Linked DNA regions of Homo sapiens: all the other regions are linked to region 1. The links are contacts of gene promoters, found by promoter capture Hi-C in blood cells and fetal thymus (Javierre and others, 2016). All regions are on one chromosome and are shown on one strand. Each heading gives the region's core, a stretch centred on a gene start or on the middle of the fragment in contact. The rest is flanking DNA. Distances are from core to core; before and after follow the strand shown.

Region 1 (2,880 bases), core at 172-2,671:
CGGGCCCTGAGGCCCACCTTTAGCCCACCTCCCCTCCCGAGGTCTCCTTCTGCCAATCACCTGCCTAATGCCCCTGCACCCTGGTGTCAGGCAGCCCCCCAGAGCTGCATCCCTCCCTCCTGTAGTTAACCAATGCTCTATGAGCCTCTCTCAGCCAAGACCTTGGCATCAGCTCACCACTGCCCCGCCCCTGGCCCTCCCCTTCATCACGGGCCGTCTCTCAGGCTTGGCGCCCTGGGATGCTCCCTTGCTCCAGCTCTGTGACTGTCCCCATGAGGGTCCTCCCTCAGTGCAGCCCCATCTCTCCAGCGGTGCTGGCACGATGGACCCGGTTGACTCCCTGCCTCCTGCCCTCTCCGTTCAGTCTAAACTGCACAGTCTAACGTAGGAACCACTAGAGCATGCAGCTATTAAAATTCAAATTAAATTAAGCTGGGTATGGTGGTGTGAGACTTGTCCCAACTACTCACGAGGCTGAGATGGGAGGATTGCTTGAGTCCAGGAATTCACATACAGCCTGGGTAACATAGGTCTCGTCTCTAAAAAACAAAAACAAAAACATTATGGAATGAGCCTCTGGGGATGAGGAGCTGATGTCCTGAATGGACCAGTGACCAGTGCAGGAGGGGTGGAGTCCTAGCAGGGGTAGATCCCAGCTTTGGGAACCAACTTTCCCAGGCACTTGCCGGCCACTCCGTGGGAAAGTCCTCAGGCAGCCTGCAGGGAGCTGGGATCAGCTGATGGGGATGGGTTTGGAGGGGAGAGAGTGGTGCACAGGGACTGGAGGTGGGGGAGGGGTGGGGTTGCCATGGAAAGGGCTCTTGGGATGGGTCTTGGGCTGAGCCTTTGGCAAGGCCTCCACCCTGGAGCTGAGCCAGCAGAGAGTGGGGCTGACTCCATGAGGCCCAGACTCTCGTGGGTATTCTGGTGGCCTGGGCACCCTGTCTTTCCTGAACCCTGCCTGCCTAATCTAAGAACTGCTCCCCTTGTAGCTCTGTCTCTCCTCTGTTGGCCTAGTTTCTTCATCCATGGGTGGGCACAGCAGAAGCTGTCTCACCTGCTCCATGGTGAACGGGATTTGCAAGGATTTGACTCTGGCCATCCAGGGAAGATGGAGTCTTTGACCAGGCCTGGCCCCTGAAGCAGACTTCTTCCTTCTGAGCCTGCTGGGGAAGCAGAATTCCTCGATGCTGGGTGTCATGGTCTACCAGGCCCTCCCTCGCCCAGGCCACTTGTGTTGAGCCTGGAGCAGAACCCCCAGATCTGTAGTCCGCCTGTCAGCTTGGGGAGTCTCCGTTTCCGTCTGTTTCATTCCCATCAGCTGTGTGTGGCTGAGCAAGTCACTTAACCTCTTGAGGCCTCCATGTCCTCATCTGCAAAATGGAGACACACATATCTGCGTCCCCGATGACCACCAGTAGCTGGGATGATACGTCGACTGCAGAGTGACCACTTTGTGTAGGCGTCCCTGTGGATGGTTGTCAGTCAAAGGAGTGAGTCAGATGATGAGAGGGGAGGACAGCAGAGCAGCAGTTGTTTCTTCAGTCTCGCCGGGACTCCAGGATCGGCCATGTTCTGCAGCCACCGCCTCTACCTGTCTCCCCATGTGGGATCCTGAAACCTCAAGCTGCATTTAGTTTCAGAGTCCGGGGAGGTGCTCACTGTCTTCTGACTCCTGAGATGCCGACTCCCTCTGCCATACCCCAGGGAAGGAACCAGTAGCAGAAGCTCCAGGGAAACTGATGAAGGTCAACAGAAGGAAGAACTTCTAGCAGCCCAAAGGGATTGGAATGGGCGGCCCGTGGGAGTGGACATGCAGAGGCACTGGCCTGGGGTGAAGCCTTGGACCAAATTCTTACTTGCAGGCCCTCTGGACCCAGGAGAGGAGTCTGCAGGCCTCGGCTGGGCCGGATTCCGCAGATTCTGGCCTAGGTCCTGAATGCCTGGTGAGTTACTGAGAAAGGCCCTACAGGCTGAGGGTGCCAGTCAGGGTGAAGCAGCCCCGCAATTGGCCCACCTCCTTTTGTACCTTAACAAAGGTGTCTTTGTTACCTTTCTTAAAGGAAATAAAGCCGGTCAGGAGCAAGGCCTGGCATATTCAGGGGGTCATCTGTATTTGGTCGTCCAGCGGGAAACCCAAATGGAAGGAAAGAAAAAAAAAAAAAACCATGCATTTATAGAACCTCTGCCAATGGCCAGGCTCCATGCAGAATGCTTTGACACCGTGGCTCAGCCAGGTCTCCCACAGGACTGCAAAACAGAGGGTGACATCTTTCTTTTAGATCGGAGAAGACTGAGGACCAGAGAAGCTAAGTAACTTGCCAAAGGGCACACAGCAAGTAAGTCATGGCACTGGGATTCAAACCAAATCCTCCAGACTTCCAGTAACAGTGGAGCCGGCGTGTCCTGAGCATCTGTTGTGTGCTTAGGCATGGTCCCTAGCTTTTTGCGGGGATTAACTCACTCAACTCTCACAACAACCCTGTGAGACAGAAACGGTTATACCTCCGTATCGTGGAGGGGGAAACTGAGGCACGGGGAGGCAGAGTGACTTGCCAAGGCCACAAGCAGTGTTCGGATCTGGCCATTGTGGCCACTGGCCTACCTTGTGCCCCAGGAGCTGCTGTACATGGCAGGGATTGCTGCAAAGATGTGCCTCCTGCCTTCTTTTTGGAGGTGGCAGAGCCCTTAGGTCACATGGGGCAGGACCAGGCCGGGTGGAAGGTGAGCACAGGGAGACGGGCTTCAGCGCGAAGCCCTTTCGTACAGTTGAACTAACTCCTGGAGAGGTAGTGCGGGTCCACCCCAAGGTGTACCAGGGCTGGGGGCAGTGGATGGGCTACTTCCTGCCCAGAAGTAGAGACTGAGGTTGTTTCTGGC
Region 2 (2,880 bases), core at 278-2,777, 540 kb after region 1:
GTGTAGGAAGCTGGAAGTAGCTGTGGTTAGAAAGGTGGAGCTGCCTCAGGCTGCATAAACCTTGCCTTCCAGGGTGGATAATCAGGACTGATTTTTGTAAATGAAGGGTCCTGAGCAATGACCTTGATTTGAGGATGGCGTAGGATGGGATGGACACCTGAAGGCCAAGGGAATCCAAGCCAGCCGGAGCTCTGCCTGGATCTGTGCCTGGGGAAGCACAGAGCTTCGCACAGCTGCAAGGCCATCAGCGCATCCAGGCCTGCTGAGAAAGTGATGTTTGAGCAGATGTGTGGCTCACGGAGATGAGCCCACCCCTGGCATCTCCGTGATGGCATCTCCTTGTGCCTGCTTGTTTTTCTAGGGTGTCAGGAGCAACTTTCCTCAGGCCCCTAGATCTCCCATGATATGGCTTCTTTATTCCATTTTATTTATTTATTTATTTGAGACAGTCTCTATCACCCAGGCTGGAGTGCAATGGCACGATCTCGGCTAACTGCAACCTCCATCTCCTGGGTTCAAGTAATTCTCCTGCCTCAGCCTCCCCAGTAGCTGGCATTACAGGTGCCTGCCACCACGCCTGGCTAATTTTTTTTTTTTTTTTCGCTCTTGTTGCCCTGGCTGGAGTGCAACGGCGCAATCTTGGCTCACTGCAAACTCTGCCTCCAGGTTCAGGCAATTCTCCTGCCTCAGCCTCCCAAGTAGCTGGGATTACAGGTGCCCGCTACCATGCCCAGCCCATTTTTTGTATTTTTAATAGAGGGTTTCACCATGTTGGCCAGGCTGGTCTCAAACTCCTGACCTCAGGTGATCCACCTGCCTTGGCCTCCCAAAGTGCTAGGATTACAGGTGTGAGCCACCTTGCCTGGCCCTGATACAGTTTCTTAAGAGCTGCTGGAAGACCCCCAGGATGGGGAGGTGGGGATTTGTCCAGGATGAAGTACAAGCACACGGCCTGCACCCCCAGGCCCATCTCCAGGGCTCAGATATGCTCAAAGATCGGGGGACGTGGAACTCCAGGAATGGTACAGGTGGAGTTTTTGACTCTTGGCCACCAGTGACCCCAGGGCGAGGTGGTACCATCTGAGCAGGGCATGCCTCTGTGGGCGTGTAGACACCGTGTGCCTCACCAGTGCCTTTCCCCACCCAGGTCATTGCTGTGGTCATGGACCTCTTCACTGATGGTGATATCTTTCAAGACATTGTGGATGCTGCCTGTAAGCGCCGGGTCCCAGTGTACATCATCCTGGACGAGGCAGGAGTGAAGTATTTCCTGGAGATGTGTCAGGACCTGCAGCTCACTGACTTCCGGATTCGGGTAAGTTGCACCACTGGGGTGGAAAGTGGACAGGAGATGAGACAGAGACTACCTCTGCCCCGTCCTGCAGCTCCCCCCTGCCTCTTCCCTGAATGGGGGCTCAGGCGAACTTCAAGATCTCAACACCTTTCCTTTTGTTGAAAGTCAAGCCTTTAACCTTGGCTTTACTGTTAACTACTGAATCATATGCCCAGTTTCAATTTTATCCCTAGGCTGCTGAGACTGAAGGAGGGAGCTCTGGGCTGGTCCTGGGGTGCTTAGCCTGCAGAATCACTGATGTCAAAGTGAGGGCTGTTGTTCTCTTCTGGGGCCTTTTGAGAAGAGGCAGGAACCACCCTGGGCTTGTCCATGCCTGAAGCAAGATTTGGGGACTTCTTCCTGCTCGCCAAAGAGGGTTCCCTATGGAAGGCTGTAGGAAGCAGAGCGTCTAGTGAAGACAGGAGCCTGCAGGCAGGGTCCATACACAAGGGGGCTCTTCCTCTGCAGAAGCAAGGACCTGGCACGGAGGCTGGCCCAACCCAGGTGACAGGGCCTTCTGCTCTTCCCAACAGAACATCCGTGTCCGCTCTGTGACAGGCGTCGGCTTCTACATGCCCATGGGGAGGATCAAGGGGACCCTGTCATCAAGGTTCCTGATGGTGGACGGTGACAAAGTGGCCACTGGATCTTACAGGTGAGTTGGGCCGGATCAAAGAAGGGCCCAGGAGGCCTTGATTCCAGGTAGGTGTTCAGGAAGATGCCAGACCGGAGCCTCCGTCATCATGAGTGTGTAACAGGGATCATCTGACGCAATAGCAAAGGACAGCTTTCTGCCCAGTCCCTTCCCTCAAACTTCCTGGTTGATGGATTATTCTAAAAAGAGGGTCAACTCTTCCTAGGCATTACGCACTGTCTGTTTTTCATGGTCCATTTGCAGCCAGTTGCATTTTGAGGCTAGTCATTAGGTAGGACAAGCAGGAAGTGGGATGCACCAGATCTGGAAAGAAACGGGAAGGTGTGGTGTGCAGGGAATGTCGCCAGAATTTTTTTTTTTTTTTTTTTTTTTGAGACGGAGTCTTGCTCCGTTGCCCAGGCTGGACTGCAGTGGCATGATCTCGGCTCACTGCAACCTCTGCCTCCCGGATTCAAGCGATTCTCCTGCCTCAGCCTCCCTAGTAGCCGGGATTACAGGTGCCTACCACCATGCTCAGCTAATTTTTGTATTTTTAGTAGAGAAGGGGTTTCACCATGTTGGCCAGGCTGGTCTCGAACTTTTGACCTCAAGTGATCCGCCCGCCTCAGCCTCCCAAAATGCTGAGATTACAGGTGTGAGCCTGGCCTCAGAATTCTGATTTTAAAATAATTTAGCAGGAACACGAGAGACTGTATCTGTGTAATCTCTGCCCTCCAAGTAAATTAAAATATAGGTGACGAGAAGAGAGAGCTGAGCACATGAAACAGTGAATAGCAGGGTAAGTCCTGTCACATGGTCAGAGTATGGGTTTCTGCAGACACTAAGTGCTTAAAAAAATCAGAAAAGAACCAATACAGAGTAGAATAATATTCATAATAGTGGCAGCTGCAGT
Region 3 (2,880 bases), core at 214-2,713, 530 kb after region 1:
GGCGGGCAGATCGCTTGAGCTGAAGAATTTGAGACCAGCCTGGGCAACATGGCAAATCCCCATCTTTACAAAAAGTACAAAAATTAGCCAGATGTGGTGGTGTCTACCTGTAATCCCAACTACTCTGGAGGCTGAGCTGGGTAGGTAGGAGGATTGCTTGATCATGGGAGGTGGAGGTTGCGGTGAGCAGAGATTTCGCCACTGCACTCCAGCCTGGGTGCCAGAGTGAAACTCTATCTCAAAATAAATAAATAAAAAACAAAACAAAAAAACCCAAAAAGATAAGAAAAACAAGGGAGAAACCATGTGTGAAAGCTGAGGATACTGGAAAGTATCATACAAATGTTCATTATTTTAGAAAGTAACTGCTGTCATCTCTGCCTTTTTGCAGAGCAGAGGAGGGAAGGGTGGCCAAATTTTCTCCCCAGAAGTTAGGGAGCCCCACCCAGGAGATTAGAGGTAGGGGAATTGGGAGGGCCAAAGACCCTGTGCCGGCGTGTTTCCTGTTTCCACCTTTGAGCGAGACAGGAGTGGCTGCCCACAGCCCTCCCAGCCGCTCACTGTATTGATCTGTTTGCCTTGATTTGGTGGTGGTGGGCCGTGGTTGGTAAGGGCAGCTTTCTGCCGGCCTCCGAGCTGCCTTCGGGAGGCTGTGGCGTTGGAATCCTCAGCCCAGGATCTATGCTGGGATCTGGCATGGGCAGAGAGGGATAAAGCAGGAAGGTGCAGAGGCTTCCTTGTTCCTAAAGCGGGGGTCCCCTGAGGATGTTCCCCACACACGGTCATCCTGAAGGGCCAGACTGCTGCACAGGCCCAGCCCAGAGAGCCCCAGGGCAGCCTGGAAAGACTCCCCAAGTTCTTTTAGTTCTGGAGAACTAAAGCTTTCATTGGAACAAGAGGGTGGAGCTGCTGATGGTTAACCCTGATGTAATCATTGCCTTGGGCTGTGTTTCCCTCTTTGGGGAAGAGGGAGGGGAGAGTTGGCTCCTCTGAAATCCGATACTTTGGGTCCCTGAACCTCTGAGGATGGGTGTTTCCCAGAAAGTTCAAAAGTAGAAGTTGGGGCCTCAGTAAACTTCATGACCTTCTCTTGAAGGTTCACGGTAGCAAAGCCAGTTCTGTTGGGTGGAGGTCTCCAAAAGTCCAGGCCACTGGCGGGTGGAGGGATCCCATGCGGCTGGGAGCCAGGAGCCTGGGAATCGTCATTTTTGCCCTGGCCATCTCTTTCCTAGCTCACTGGGTGACGTGGGGTACATCATTTAGCTTTGCTGGGCCTCTGTTTCTGCATCTCTAACATGGGGATAATTCTTGCCTTCTTATTTCCACAAATTGTTCTGAGAACCTAGTTCAAGGCTATGAGAAAGCACTTTGAGAAGGGTGAGTGATGCGTGCAGTAAAAGGGATTTCTCTGAAGAAGGGCTAATGTTGAGTGACAGGATCGGTGCCCTGTGTGCCATTTCGTTTCGTTAATCCAACCCTCAGCACCTTGCAAAGGAAGAGATATTTTCCCTGAGGCTCCGGGAAAGCATAAGGTTGCAGAACTCAGAAGAGGCTGGGGGAGATTCCACCCAGGTCTCAGCTCAAAGTGGTGTCCATCCACGGCAGTTGCCCTTGGGAATTGTCCTCTGGGGCCATCTCTTCCTCTAAAACTTGCAGAAACATTCAAAGTCTGTATGTCGCCAGCCAGGCCCTGGGAGGCTCTTGGACCAGTTCTAGAGACAGACAAGTACACAACTGCCAGCTGGTCCACTCTGTGCTAAGGCTGGGGAAGAGGGTTCCTCCTGCCTAGTGACATTGAGGCAGGTAACACAGGGAAGCTGGGTACAGGTAGTTTCTCCAGAGACCTAGATTGTCCTCTTTATGGCCACTTTCTGGCCCCCTGGGACTTACGCCCCTCCCTGACAGGCTGAGACCTTGAAGTGAATCCTAGCCCAGCAACTGTCAGTCCCCCCATCTTCTCACCCCCAGGGATGCTGCCTCACCTTGGCTGGTGGCCAGATCTGCCTCCCTTTTCTTAGAGCGTGCAAAGCAGAGCCTATTTGGGGACAAGCTTCCAATCCAAGCTGGGGGAGGTGGGGAGGAGGGCAGAGAACAAATGAGCCCAGGGCTGCGTCCTAGCTGACCACCTGCCCCCTGCTCAGGGGGGGTGTCCTGAGCCACCCCCAAGGCTGAGTCATTCTAGCTATCCCTGCCTGCCCCCACCCCCACACACCATGCCAGGTGCCATGACCAGCCGGCCTCAGCTGGAGCTGCTGCCCTTCCCAGTTTCCTTGTTCATTCTCTGAAATCAGAGTCTGTGGACTTGCTAATGATCCCATAATCTTAGCCCTGGAAGAGAGCCTATGGCTTTTCTAATTATTAGTCTCTCTGGCCCAGGTTTCCAATAATCTGGAAACATATGCACGCCGGGGCACAGCTTGCACGCCGGTCATCATTCTGCTGGGCTCCTTGCAGTCCTGGCAAGGCATGTGGGAGGCTCCGGATAAGTGTTATTTTATTTATTTATTTATTTTTCAGCAGTGAGTCAGGAGATGGGGGTGCGGAGGTGGGACCCAGAACTCTCTACCTTTCAGTGGGCCATTGAGGACAGACTATGAGTTTCCCGAACTCACCCGCCTGGGAGGGCTCCCAGATGGCCTGGAGATTCCTTGCATTTGCTCATTCACTCACCATGTTTCACTGAGACCCAACTATGTGCCAGGAACCAGAAATTTACAGAGGAGTACGGTGAGAATTCTGCCTTAAGTCTAATGGGGGGTGACAAAAAGAAACTAAATTTCAGCACAGTGGTAGGGGTGGGGATATTGATAGCTATTACTTATTGGGCATATAAGTGCTAGGCAAATGCCAGCCCTTTTAGAATTTTATTTTATTTTATTT

Evidence for each region. Contacts are between HindIII fragments. The CHiCAGO score rates a contact against its expected background, and 5 or more counts as called.
Region 2: a fragment that was not itself captured here is called in contact with the fragment with the promoter of MGAT3-AS1 in region 1 in 2 of 17 cell types (naive CD4 T cells and total CD4 T cells); the score reaches 5.5 in naive CD4 T cells.
Region 3: a contact is called between a fragment that was not itself captured here and the fragment with the promoter of MGAT3-AS1 in region 1, in 1 of 17 cell types (total CD4 T cells). The highest score is 6.4, in total CD4 T cells.

The regions. Positions count from the first base shown.
Region 1 is chr22:39,475,401-39,478,280 of GRCh38, forward strand. MGAT3-AS1 (MGAT3 antisense RNA 1) reads right to left here and starts at 1,422. Exons shown (of 2, transcript NR_126469.1): 1 at 1,058-1,422; 2 at 407-539. All of the region lies in intron 1 of MGAT3 (beta-1,4-mannosyl-glycoprotein 4-beta-N-acetylglucosaminyltransferase), which reads left to right. The HindIII fragment of the contact is 5,409 bases long and covers 1-2,880 here.
Region 2 is chr22:40,018,021-40,020,900 of GRCh38, forward strand. It overlaps FAM83F (family with sequence similarity 83 member F), which reads left to right. Exons shown (of 5, transcript NM_138435.4): 2 at 1,148-1,315; 3 at 1,867-1,988. Among named protein-coding and RNA genes, the nearest start is that of FAM83F, 25 kb to the left of the region's middle. The HindIII fragment of the contact is 3,847 bases long and covers 1-2,880 here.
Region 3 is chr22:40,001,407-40,004,286 of GRCh38, forward strand. The region is part of intron 1 of FAM83F (family with sequence similarity 83 member F); the gene reads left to right. Among named protein-coding and RNA genes, the nearest start is that of FAM83F, 7.9 kb to the left of the region's middle. The HindIII fragment of the contact is 1,169 bases long and covers 880-2,048 here.